Linked DNA regions of Homo sapiens: region 2 is linked to region 1. The links are contacts of gene promoters, found by promoter capture Hi-C in blood cells and fetal thymus (Javierre and others, 2016). All regions are on one chromosome and are shown on one strand. The core of a region is centred on a gene start or on the middle of the fragment in contact, and the rest is flanking DNA. Distances in the headings are between cores, read along the strand shown. Region 1 holds the start of BMP6 (bone morphogenetic protein 6). Region 2 holds the start of MIR5689 (microRNA 5689).

Region 1 (6,496 bases), core at 2,111-4,610:
CAGCATGTTTACAAAATAGAAGCTATTTGGTCAAGTGTGTTATAAATGTATAACAGAAACCCTCAGAATATATAAGGAACAAGGACAACTACAGGTTTAAAGGATTTGTTGCGTGAATTACATGGTGCCTTAATAAACACTTGGAGACAGAATTCCCGTCCTATTCCCACTATCACTGGAAGTATGGGATGAACCTGTGCTTTCTGGTGAGGGCTCCTCATTTCTTCATTAAGTGGGGCAGGGAGATGGGACAGGCAACGTATTGCCAGAAAACTGAAGGCCATCTGCATGAAATGTCAGCCAAGCAACCAGATGTTTGATTGGATTGGCTCCCACATCCGGCTTCTTGATCGAATTCCTCCTCTTTCCACCCAGATGTTTTAGAAACACAGAGAACTTCATGAAGCTTGTTCCGGGCCCGCAGAGGAAGGGGCGGTAATATTTTGGTGTCCTGCAGGGGGCGAAGTTACCTCTAATTTTATCAAGTCGGTTCATACATTCCAGCGGACTTCAAAGCCCAGATCTGCTCCTGTCCCTCCAACTCCACCCACCCCATGCCTCCTCCTCTTGAATCACATGTGGACGTTGTCTAGCTCCCTGTCCTGAGGCTTCCAGGGGAGCACTCGGGCTGTCTAATGGGGAAGGGTCCCAGAAGCAGGGAGTAGACAAGGTGGGGGTTAGGGGATTTTTATCCACCTAGAGGTCCAACTGGCTTGGAGAAAGAGTAGTCCCAATTTCAAGGTTATTAAAATCCTAGAACTGTATCTCTTCCTGTCCCCTTTGTCCCAATGGATACAAGGGCTTGCCTGCATGTGTCCCGCAAACATGATGTGCACATGTTGGGAGCCATAGTGGACAGAAGAGGAGCACATCCTCAGTTGGATGTCACTGTCCTTATGATCATTGTAATGTCTCACTGCACAGTTTTTTTAGGAGCTTCTTCTGGCTCTTAAGGGAGATGTGCGTTCTCATGTTCATCACCTGGAGGTACTCTCGACACCTCCTCATTCTAGCCCCATTCGACAGAAACTGAGAATCCATCTTGGTGGAGTGAGGAGCCTGCAACAGACCTGAATCAGAGTTGCTGCTCAGATGTTTAGTTGATAGTCACTTTAGACTCATGTCACATGAACCCATCTACTTCTTAGTGTCTAAGGAAAGGGAGAGATGGCGTGCGTGTGTGTGCATGTGTGTGTGTGTCTTCTGCACTAGGTCCACCCCATAGATGCATACACAAGTTGAGTATCCCTTATCCAAAGTGCTTGGGACCAGAAGTATTTCAAATTTCAGATTTTTAGATTTTGGAATATTTGCATATACATAATGAGATACCTTAGGGATGGGATCCAAGTCTAAACATGAAATTCATTTATGTTTCGTATATATCTCATATACATAGTCTGAAGGTAATTTAATACAATATTTCAAATGATTTTGTGGATGAAAATTTTGACTGTGTTTTGACCATGTCCCATCCTATGAGGTCAGGTGTGGAATTTTCCATCTGAGGCATCATGTCAGCTCTCAGAAATCTTTAGATTTTGGAGCATTTTGGATGTCAGATTTTTGGGTTAGGGATGCTCAACCTCTACAATAGGTGGGTCACCCCTCGATTTTGTGTTTTAAATGACATAGCCCCACCAAGGTGCCCTCATCCATGCTTGAAATGTTGAGTTTCCTGTGTCTTCCCCACTGCCCTCGTAGGTAGAAAGTCTTTTACTCTGCCTGCATCTCACCAGAAGTCTTATGAGGAAGGTGCAACTAGGTTTAAAAAAGGAGGCTCTTGGCAGGAAGCCTAGGTGTATTTGCTGGAATTTCAGATCTTCTGAGCAGAGCTCTTGGCTGCTGTGGGGCACTGCAGTGAATTTATGTCCCTAACATGTTCCCTACAGAAAAAAGAAGTGACAGGGCTCTTGAATTCTGAGGGTCCGGGCATCCCAGACAAAGTATCGTATTATCTTTTCGGATGGAAGAAATCCCTGTAGAGATGGTTAAAGACTGGCATTCACATAAGTTTTGTGCCCTGAAATTCATAGCTATCAGATATTTGTAGAAATAAAGACTCTTCTAAATGACCACTTGTGTCTGGGCCAAGGCAGAACTAGAAAGAAGGACTCAGTGGGTAGTTGGAGTCAGTGGTGGTCTCTATTTACCCATGAGAAATAGATTCTTGGAAATAGGATAGGAATGCTTATAAGATTTGGACCAACAGAAAGCCTATGATCTCATAAATTCATGAATCCCACAGTCTATAATCTATTTGACTTCACTCTCAAATGCCTAGGACCATTTGGACTAAGGCTGGCAAGTCAGAAAATTGCAGTTTTTATTTTCAACTCCACACAATTTTCACCAAGTAAAAAACCTTCATGTTTTACGTGAATTTGCTTCTACGATCCATAGATGACTGGATGTTCTCGGGCGGGGTAAAGGCAAATGAATTTGTGTCCTCATTGGCAAATGGTGTTGGTGGTGGTGTTATCTTGTCTAAAATCCACAGGAACCTGTGTTTCAGGACCCTGTCTATTGTCCTGACCATTCAGAATGCATGCCAAGCCCCTGCTCTTCCTGGAGTTATCTTTATCACCTCTCCTCAAGTTTTATCTTGCACCATATAAGTCACATTGTATTTCAATATTAAAATGCAACATTAATAGATAAGCTGGAGAATCAAGACATTTCCAAGAAGACAGGGGACGCCTTTTCTAATATATCGTCTGATTACACCCTCTTTCTTTTGGGTGCTAGCTTAAGAAGCCAAACCAAAGCACAAATGAACAGAGAAGTCAACACATCCGACCCCAAACCCTCAGGACGCTGGCTTGGGTTACATGTGGCCCTCTCTGTGGTCAGTTTGTGAGTAGCCTCCCCGGAGGGTGTGTCCCAACTTCCAGCAGCTGCCGTGGAAAGCCACGTGTCCGCTAAACGCCTACATTACATCAATAAGAGAAACTAAGGAAGGGATGGAAAAGCTATCATTTTTCTTTTCTTCCTCAGTTCTGGCAGTATAGTGATTTAATCGCTGTTATTATTTTTATTTAGTTAAAGCATCAACTTAGGCCTTTTAAATGATGGTAAAAGAGAAAGCTTCAGATCGGGGTATTGGTCAGATCATTCTTACTAGCGATGACCTCTTCGCCTTTGGCACCTCGCGGCTCTTCGCATGCCTCCAAGAATTCCCGGGTCTTGAAACCTACGCGCGGCGGAGGCGACGCCTCTCGGGAGAGGGAGGGTGAAAGAAGGGGCGGGGCTATTTAAATAGCCCGCGAGCTTCGCGTCCCCATTGGCTGCCAGCCTGTCGGTTACCGCGGGGCGGGGAGTCCCGGGGCTGGAGTGAGGTACCTGAGCCGGGCGCGCAGCAGAAAGCCCACGTTGGCCGCTGCGGGGAGCGCGGCGTGGAGAGGCGGGAGACCGAATTCCGGCGCCGCCGCCGCGGCCGCTGCTCGGTGCACTAGCCCCCTTCCTTCCCATCCTTTCTGCGAGCGGGTTTGCTGGGCAGCCGGGCGACCGCCGAACGGAAAGCAAGATCCTCGCCGCCTCCGCTTGAGGAGGCGTGCGGCGCGCGGAGATTTTGAGTGGGAGCGACGGTGCCCGAGAGCTCAGGGGCGCGGAGTTCGTGAGCGAGAAGGAAGTTAAACCTCGCGGAATAGACTGGCATTTCGGGACGCCTTGTCGCCGCAGCCTGGGCCCTGCAACGGGGTAAACTTCATGGTGGCCCTGCGATCTGGGGAGGGGCGTGCGCCACGGTGATGCCGGGCATCTCCCGCAGCTCGTGAGCGGCCCCGCTCCCCGCTGCCCCGGGTCCCACTCAGTCGCCAGGGAGAGCGCGGGGCAGCGCACGTGTGCGGCCAGCGAGGCCCAGAGTGACCGCGCCGCGACTCGCAGGAGCCAGGGCGCAGGCTGCAGTGCAGCCCGGACTCAGACGCACCTGGCCTGGACCGCGCGCCTCTAGAGACCTGCGCGAGGCTGTGAGGCTCCCCTTCCTCCCCTCCAAGCGGTTCTCCTGGTGATCGCCCCTTCGCCACCTCTCTAGCCTGGGCAACTGGGGGCGCCCCGGACGACCATGAGAGATAAGGACTGAGGGCCAGGAAGGGGAAGCGAGCCCGCCGAGAGGTGGCGGGGACTGCTCACGCCAAGGGCCACAGCGGCCGCGCTCCGGCCTCGCTCCGCCGCTCCACGCCTCGCGGGATCCGCGGGGGCAGCCCGGCCGGGCGGGGATGCCGGGGCTGGGGCGGAGGGCGCAGTGGCTGTGCTGGTGGTGGGGGCTGCTGTGCAGCTGCTGCGGGCCCCCGCCGCTGCGGCCGCCCTTGCCCGCTGCCGCGGCCGCCGCCGCCGGGGGGCAGCTGCTGGGGGACGGCGGGAGCCCCGGCCGCACGGAGCAGCCGCCGCCGTCGCCGCAGTCCTCCTCGGGCTTCCTGTACCGGCGGCTCAAGACGCAGGAGAAGCGGGAGATGCAGAAGGAGATCTTGTCGGTGCTGGGGCTCCCGCACCGGCCCCGGCCCCTGCACGGCCTCCAACAGCCGCAGCCCCCGGCGCTCCGGCAGCAGGAGGAGCAGCAGCAGCAGCAGCAGCTGCCTCGCGGAGAGCCCCCTCCCGGGCGACTGAAGTCCGCGCCCCTCTTCATGCTGGATCTGTACAACGCCCTGTCCGCCGACAACGACGAGGACGGGGCGTCGGAGGGGGAGAGGCAGCAGTCCTGGCCCCACGAAGCAGCCAGCTCGTCCCAGCGTCGGCAGCCGCCCCCGGGCGCCGCGCACCCGCTCAACCGCAAGAGCCTTCTGGCCCCCGGATCTGGCAGCGGCGGCGCGTCCCCACTGACCAGCGCGCAGGACAGCGCCTTCCTCAACGACGCGGACATGGTCATGAGCTTTGTGAACCTGGGTAAGGATTTGGGGTAACGTAATGACGAGAACATTTCCCCCTTTTCAGTGTCCCGGGCCCAGGGGATGGAGTGAGGGGGTGGAGGAGCTCCCGGCGCGCGGGTCCCGCCTGGTGCGCCAGAGAACGCGGGGACAGGCAGGCTGTGCTCCCGCCACCTGCGCGGCGGTGGGCGGCACATGCGCTCCCCCGCGCCGCGGGCAGGGCTGCGCGCCGAGGCCCCCAGAGGCGGCTGGCCGGCCGGGCCGCGGGGCTCCGGGAGCGCTGTCCCCAGCGGGCGTGTATTTGCGGACTCCCTGAGCACGTTCCGCGCTTTTTTTCACTTCTGCCCAGCTCTGGCCAGGTTAACTCAACTGCAGCAGGAGAGTCCAGCCCGAGTGTGGCCATCCTGGGAAGAGGGCTCTTCAGTACGATTTTCCCCTCTAAACTGCCGCCTTTTGCCCCCTAACTTGGAGTGCAGTTTTCCCACCGAGACTTTTAGGGAATCCGACAGCGGCTGGGAACTTTGAAAACTTGGCATGAGTATGTTTAGAGGTATCCACGGCACTAGGGGAGGTTGCAGAGGGAAGTCCCAAAAGGACCGCGGAAGGCGCTCGGATCCCGGCCGGGCGGGGCTCGCTTCTGTTTGGGGCGGGATGAAAGCTCAACTGGGGTAATCCATCCTGTGCCCCGGCTCACATGCCCTTGGCCATTGTCCCCAAAGGCTGAACCTTTGATCAATGCAGCCCAAGCTGCACGGGCAGAGAAAGGGTGCGGGGTAGGGGCCGGGGTTGGGCGCTGAGCTCCTCTGAACCGGTTGCCAGGCAACAGAATGGAAATTCACGGGCGGCTAAATGGAGCTCCGCCACAAATGTTCTGTGGCAAACCCGGACCCAGTCACATCGCCCTTTCTCCCCCCTCCCACCCCACTGAGTTTTCTCATCTGTAAATGAGAAGGGTGCAGAGAAGACTCTTTTCTTCGGAGTCAGTGCCTCCGGTTTGCACTGCTTTTCATTCATAAGCTGACTTAGTTTAGCGCAGACATAGGATGGAGGGACGCGCTGTCAGCGGACAGATCATGGGTGCACTGGCTACGCCCGGGATGGTTGCAGCTGCGCGGCGGGGTGGGGCTTCACGGGCCTCCTTCCCATGTGAGACGGTGGTTGTGCCCAGGCCCTGAAGTGGGTGAGCAGACACTCGCCAAAGGAGCACACGGGTCTCCCAGCCACGTCAAAGACGCTCATCTTTTAACGGCATTACTTACTGGAATGATTCCCGCGTAGACTATCTGGGTGATTTCTTTACCAGCCTATCTATGATTCCCAACTCCACTGAGCTTTGAGGGAGAGAACATGGGGGGTAAGAGCCAAGGGAGGGTGTGGAGGCAGGGCGATTGGCATCCAAGTGGTGCAGAAATCCTCCTGGGAAATTCGTGAAACAGAATCTCACAGGAGTCCAGGCTCAGGGCCTGCCAATCTGGCTGCTTGCACTGCCCGGGGTTCTGATTGGACAAGAATTTTCACAATTTATTGGAACCAAATCCAAGGTTGAGCCACCTCCAGGAAGCATTCTAAGGAAATTCTCATGCCAGTCAATAAAATTTGTAGTGGGTGGGGGCCAGGGTGGCAGAGGACCAGCG
Region 2 (6,852 bases), core at 1,839-4,338, 2.7 Mb after region 1:
TACTTTTGGAGACAAATTCTCATTCGCATTAGTTTTATTTTTATTTCTCAATTATAAGTTATTTGGCGTTCTGGCTCACCTAATCCGTGAACCAAGAGGGTTGCTTTCGGAAGCCTACTAGTGGAAAATGAAAGTTTCAGATCTGAAGCTAGCAAATGCTCACTTGCTGATGATGAGGAACAAGTTCTATTATAATAGAGTTGGTTACAAGGCTATGCAGCAAGAAAAAGGTGCTCAGCTTTATGAGAGAAGTGCAACAGATATTGGAATGTGGTGGCCTTGATGATGCTGTTCTTAGGAGACTCCATAGGCATTCTTTTTTTTTTTTTGAGACGGAATCTCGCTCCGTCGCCCACTCGCCACCGCGCCCGGCTAATTTTTTTGTATTTTTAGTAGAGACAGGGTTTCACTGTGTTAGCCAGGATGGTTTCCATCTCCTGACCTCGTGATCCGCCCGCCTCGGCCTCCCAAAGTGCTGGGATTACAGGCATGAGCCACCGCGCCCGGCCGCAGTAGGCATTCTTATACTTTGATGGGAGTAGTGTAATATGGTATAGCTTCTTTGTGAAATCGATCCAAATAAATATGAGCACACCTTTGAACCTAGCGACTCCACTTGTTGGAATTTATCCTACAGATGGAGTTGCAAGTGTGCGAAATGATGGGTTTATATATCGTGACTTTTTTAATAATAGCAAAGACTGGAAACAGTCTAAATGCTATCAATAAGACACATTTAAATAAATGATGGGTCAGTCGTATAAAGGAATAACATTCAGTCATTACAAGGAATGAGGCAGTTCTCTATGTACTCTACAGATTCATTTCCAAGACATATTGTTAAGGAAGAAAGCAAGGTGTAGTGCACTAGGTATGGTATACACATGTGTTAAGAATTGTGTTTTACTGTAGTATACCATACCTTATATGTTTAATAGAACATATCTCATCTATATTTTGTAATTCATTTTTATAAAACTGCCTGTAAATAGAAAAATTTTATTATCTCTTTCATGTCTACAGCTTCTACATTTATGTCCCCTCTTACTTTTTTTTTTTTTGGAGAGACAGTGTCTCACTATGTTGCCTAGACCAGTTTCAAACTCCTGGGCTCAAGTGATCCTTCTGCCTCAGCCTCCCAAAGCGTTGGAACTACAGGTGTGAGCCAGCCCGCCTGGCCCCTCTTACATTCTTTGTTGTTGTTGTTTTGTTGTTGTTGTCTTTGTTGTTTTTTGAAGCAGAGTCTCCCTCTGTGGCCCAGGCTGGAGTGCAGTGGCTTGATCGTGGCTCACTGCAACCTCCGCCTCCCAGGTTCAAGCCATTCTCCTGCCTCAGCTTCCCGAGTAGCTAGGACTGTAGGCATATGCCACCACGCCCAGCTAATTTTTTTTATAATTTTAGTAGAGATGGGTTTTCACCATGTTGGCCAGGCTGGCCTCAAGCTCCTGACCTCCAGTGATCTTCCTGCCTTGGCCTCCCAAAATGCTGGGATTACAGGCATGAGCCACTGGGCCGAGCCCCCTTACATTCTTAATATAGTTTATTTGTGTCCTTTCTTTTTTCACTTTTTCACTCTTGCTTACAGGTTTTTCAATTGTGTTAGGCTTTTTAAAGAACTGCTTGTCTTTGTAATGCTCTATATTATAAATTTTAGTTGTATTTATTTACTTCTGCTCTTACATTAATTTTTCATTTTTGATCTTTGAATTTATTTTGCTGTTGTTTTCTAATTCTAATTTGGATGACTAGCTAATTAAAAAAAATGTTTTCCCACTTCTTAAATGTCAGCATTTATAGGCTTTTGCGCTATACATTTCACTCAAAGTAGATTTTGTGAAATGCCACAATATTTGGCATGTGGCATTTTCACAATTGTCAATTCAAAATGTTTTCTAGTTTTCAGTGTGACTTATTTTTTGATCCATGGCTTTACTTATAAGTGTATATTTAAAAATTTCCAAATATATCATTTGTTTTGACTATTACATTTTTCATTAAGGTATAACTGACAAATAAAAATTACGTATGTTTAAAAAAGGAATTGTATTTTGCTGCAAGTAACAGTGAGCTTGTTATGGTGTTTAAGCTGTTTCAACTGCTAAAAAACAACAACAACAAAACAGATATGGACAGGGCCATGGCTTATAAGGGAACTCCATCATTCTCAGGACCTAATTTCCTCCATCTTGTTGCTCTGCCATCCCAAGTGGGCTGTTTTACAGTCCAAGAAAGCTGCTTAAGCTCCAGTCATCACGTCCACATCCCAGCCAGCAGAAAGGCAAAAGATCTGACAAATGTTACATTCTAGTATCTTCCACTCCAGTATCGAAAACTTAGTTACATAGCCTGCATTATTAGCTAACAGAAAGGCTGAGAAATGCAGTTTTTTGCTGGACAGCAATGAGTGGCTTCAAATACATTTGGACGGCTGTTATAAAAAGAGTGAGGAGATCAGACGCCAGTGGCTCACTCCTGTAATCCCATCACTTTGAGAGGCCAAGGTGAAAGGATCCCTTAGGCCCAGGAGTTTGAGACCAGTCTGGGCAACATGGTGAAACTCTGTCTCTACAAAAATTTAAAAATTAGCCAGATGGTGCGTGCCTGTAGTCCCAGCTACTCAGGAGGCTGAGGCAAGAGGTCAAGGCTGTGCTGAGCCTTTGTTCATGCCACTGCACTCCAGCCTGGGTGGCAGAGCAAAACCCCATATCAACAAAGAAAGAAAGTGGGAGAATGGATGTTGAGACAGGCGACTTGCTGTCTCTTTCATAGTATGCTAACATTTATGTGATGAGGAGAATATATAATCTGTATATGTTAAGAAAAGTTTGGGATGTCTAGAAATACACAAGTACCTAGTAACAGTATGTATAGGTGTCTTTGGGAAGATCTGATGACTAGGGGAAAGGAAGAGAGACAAGCTTTGCAACTTACCATTTTGCCTTTTGAATTTTATATTATGGCCATGTATTTTTTAAAGAAAAAAATTACATGCAAAAACTAGCATTTGATGTTAAGATTTTCCAACTGGATCTGCTTTGTGGCTAAAAGTTTCCCTCCCCTGTAGCTTGAATATATACAACTAAAAGATATGTATAGATATGTATATGCAACTATATATATACAACTAAAATGTGTACAATGCAATGTTTTGATATATGTCTATCTTGTGAGGTGAGATACCATAATCAAGCTAATTCAAATTCACACATCCATCACCTCACACAGTTACCATTTCTATGTGTGTGTGGTGAGAACATTTAAGCTTTTTTTTTTTTTTTTTTTGAGATGGAGTCTTGTTCTGTCTCTCAGGCTGGAGTGCAATGGCGTGATCTTGGCTCACTGCAACCTCCACCTCCCAGGTTCAAGCGATTCTTCTGCCTCAGCCTCCCGAGTAGCTGGGATTAAAGGCGTGCACCACCATGCATGGCTAATTTTTGTATTTTTAGTAGAGTCAGGATTTCGACGTGTTGGCCAGGCTGGTCTCGAACTCCTGACCTCAGGTAATCCACCCTCCTCGGCCTCCCAAAGTACTAGGATTACAGGCATGAGCCACATTACCTGGCCACATTTAAGCTTTTTAACTAAAAGTTTATTGGGAGAATAAAGTGGAGGGCAGTTAAAATCCCTCTAGTGGAAGAAAAGACCTGGACAATATGAGCTGTGTTCATTATGACCACTGGGAAGATGAGTTTCACCCTTCACATGACTATATGGTGAGAACATGTTTCTCAGCTGAGACAAGATTTCAGGAAAGTTTGCAAGAACCGAGAGAAAATGGAAGAAAATGAAATATTTGTTCTTCAGAGTCACCAGTTTTATTATATGCCTGGACTCTGTCACTTATGTCAATAAATTTACAAATGCAAAATACACATTTAATTCCAGCGTGGTAGCATACACCTGTAGTCCTAGATACTCAGGAGGGTGAGTATCTAGGACTACAGGTGTGTGCTACCACGCTTGAACTCAGGAGTTCAAGGCCAGCCTGGACAACACAGGGAGACCCCCTCTCTAAATGTATATACACACATACACACACACACACACACACACACACATTCAAACATTGGAATCAGATGTCCTGGACAAAATGCTCAAATCAGCTGAACACTTTGGAATGCTTAACTTTTCTTTTTTTTAGATGTTTATTTATTTATTTATTTTGTTTTTTATTTTATTATTATTATACTTTAAGTTTTAGGGTACATGTGCGCAATGTGCAGGTTTGTTACATATGTATACATGTGCCATGTTGGTGTGCTGCACCCATTAACTCGTCATTTAGCATTAGGTATATCTCCAAATGCTATCCCTCCCCCCTCCCCCCACCCCACAACAGTCCCCGGAGTGTGATGTTCCCCTTCCTGTGTCCATGTGTTCTCATTGTTCAATTCCCACCTATGAGTGAGAACATGCGGTGTTTGGTTTTTTGTCCTTGTGATAGTTTGCTGAGGATGATGGTTTCCAGTTTCATCCATGTCCCTACAAAGGACATGAACTCATCATTTTTTATGGCTGCATAGTATTCCATGGTGTATATGTGCCACATTTTCTTAATCCAGTCTATCATTGTTGGACATTTGGGTTGGTTCCAAGTCTTTGCTATTGTGAATAGTGCCGCAATAAACCTACGTGTGCATGTGTCTTTATAGCAGCATGATTTATAATCCTTTGGGTATATACCCAGTAATGGGATGGCTGGGTCAAATGGTATTTGTAGTTCTAGATCCCTGAGGAATCGCCACACTGACTTCCACAATGGTTGAACTAGTTTACGGTCCCACCAACAGTGTAAAAGTGTTCCTATTTCTCCACATCCTCTCCAGCACCTGTTGTTTCCTGACTTTTTAATGATCACCATTCTAACTGGTGTGAGATGGTATCTCATTGTGGTTTTGATTTGCATTTCTCTGATGGCCAGTGATGATGAGCATTTTTTCATGTGTTTTTTGGCTGCATAAATGTCTTCTTTTGAGAAGTGTCTGTTCATATCCTTCGCCCACTTTTTGATGGGGTTGTTTATTTTTTTCTTGTAAATTTGTTTGAGTTCATTGTAGATTCTGGATATTAGCCCTTTGTCAGATGAGTAGGTTGCAAAAATTTTCTCCCATTTCGTAGGTTGCTTGTTCACTCTGATGGTAGTTTCTTTTGCTGGAATGCTTAACTTTTCTTTCCTGCAAGAGGAAGACTGGGAGATTGAGAGGTGTGCCCAGGGTGTCAGCTCAGTGCCTGGTAGAGGCAGGTAACATGAGCTTTGAGCCCTGGCCTGTGGATTGTGTTGTGCTTGGACTGGCCTGTTACGCCATCTGCTTGCTTCTGCCTGAAATTCCTGTAACACAAGATAAAACCTCTCATTCTGCAATTTACCAATAAACCTTATAAAATCTGAGGCTAAGCCTTGTGAAATGGCAAACCCTAGAAAGCCAGAGAGCTGGCATGCGGTAGTTCAGCAGTGGCTGCAGGAAATAGAAGGAAAGGGAGTGAGGAGACAGGGTGCAAGCTGGAATGTGATCACAGGGGAGGGGGATCTCTGGACTATGGGGGAATGACGGGCAGCTTGAGGCCCTGAGATGAAAGACACTCCCTTTAAGAAAAACGTCTGTGACTCAGAGCCACAAGGCGTGTCAGGAGAAAGTTCTGATGAAACTGCATTCCATTCCTGGAGGAATACGCATTGCCATTGAAGTACAAACTCTAAAATGATGTAGGATTAATAATTAAGGCAACACTAGTAGTGGATGGTGGCCCAGAGAGCTTTCCCTAGCTTTGTTAATTTTCTTCTCTCCACAGCTTACGTAAGCAAATATTCACCCAAAGAGTAGAGAATGTTGAGACATTTAGCATTATGTATTAGTCTGTTCTCACAGTGCTATAAAAAAAAAATACCTGAGACTGGGTAATATATGAAGAGAAGTTTAATTGACTCAGTTCCGTAGACTGTACAGGAAGCACAGCTGAGGAGGCCTCAGGACACTTGCAGTCACGGCATGGGGCAAAGGGGAAGCAAGCACATCTTCACATGGCAACAGGAGAGAGAGCAAAGGGGGAAGCGCTACACACTTTTAAGCCACCAGATCTCATGAGAACTCACTCACTATCATGAGGACAGCAAGGGGGAAATTCTCCCCCATGAGCCAATCACCTCCCACCAGGTCCCTCCCCCAACATTAGGAATTACAATTTGCATGAGATTTGTGTGGCCACACGGAGCCAAACCATATCACATTGGTCAACCTATATAGTAATGTTTTTCTTAATCTAAATGTATACTAAGTTAGTGTTTTATCGATTTAAAAATACATCTTGAAAAGGATTTTGCAATTTACTTTTTTTTTTTTTTTGTGAGACAGAGTCTCACTCTTGTCCCCCAGGCTGGAGTGTAGTAGCGTGATCTTGGCTCGCTGCAATCTCTGCCTCCCAGGTTCAAGCAATTCTCCTGCCTCAGCCTCCTGAGTAGCTTGGATTACAGGCGCCTGCCACTACTCCCGGCTAATTTTTTGGTATTTTTAGTAGAGACAGGGTTTCACCATGTTGGCCAGGCTGGTTTCAAACTCCTGACCTCAAGTGATCCGCCCACCTCGGCTTCCCAAAGTGCTAGGATTACAGACGTGAGCCACCATGCCCAGCCCACAATTTCTTTTAAAACTAAACATATACAGTTGTCCATCAGTATCTGCAGGGGACTGGTTCCAGGTCTCCCTGCAAGTACCAAAATCACAGATGCTCAGGAATCTGATATAAAGCAGGGTAGTACTTGCATATAACCCACACACATCCTCCTGTATACTTTAAATCATCTCTAGATTACTTATAATACCTAGTACAAGGTGAAGACTATGTAAACAGTTGTTA

What was found. The method cuts DNA at HindIII sites, captures the fragments that hold promoters and counts their contacts. A CHiCAGO score of 5 or more calls a contact.
Region 2: a fragment that was not itself captured here is called in contact with the fragment with the promoter of BMP6 in region 1 in 3 of 17 cell types (M2 macrophages, total B cells and total CD8 T cells); the score reaches 7.5 in M2 macrophages.

What each region holds. Positions count from the first base shown.
Region 1 is chr6:7,722,739-7,729,234 of GRCh38, forward strand. BMP6 (bone morphogenetic protein 6) reads left to right here and starts at 3,361. Exons shown (of 7, transcript NM_001718.6): 1 at 3,361-4,881. The coding sequence starts at 4,218. RefSeq lists an enhancer at 537-596. The HindIII fragment of the contact is 3,909 bases long and covers 3,086-6,496 here.
Region 2 is chr6:10,435,834-10,442,685 of GRCh38, forward strand. All of the region lies in intron 1 of MIR5689HG (MIR5689 host gene), which reads left to right. MIR5689 (microRNA 5689) reads left to right here and starts at 3,884; the gene lies at 3,884-3,961. RefSeq lists enhancers at 4,902-5,402, 5,403-5,903. The HindIII fragment of the contact is 344 bases long and covers 2,917-3,260 here.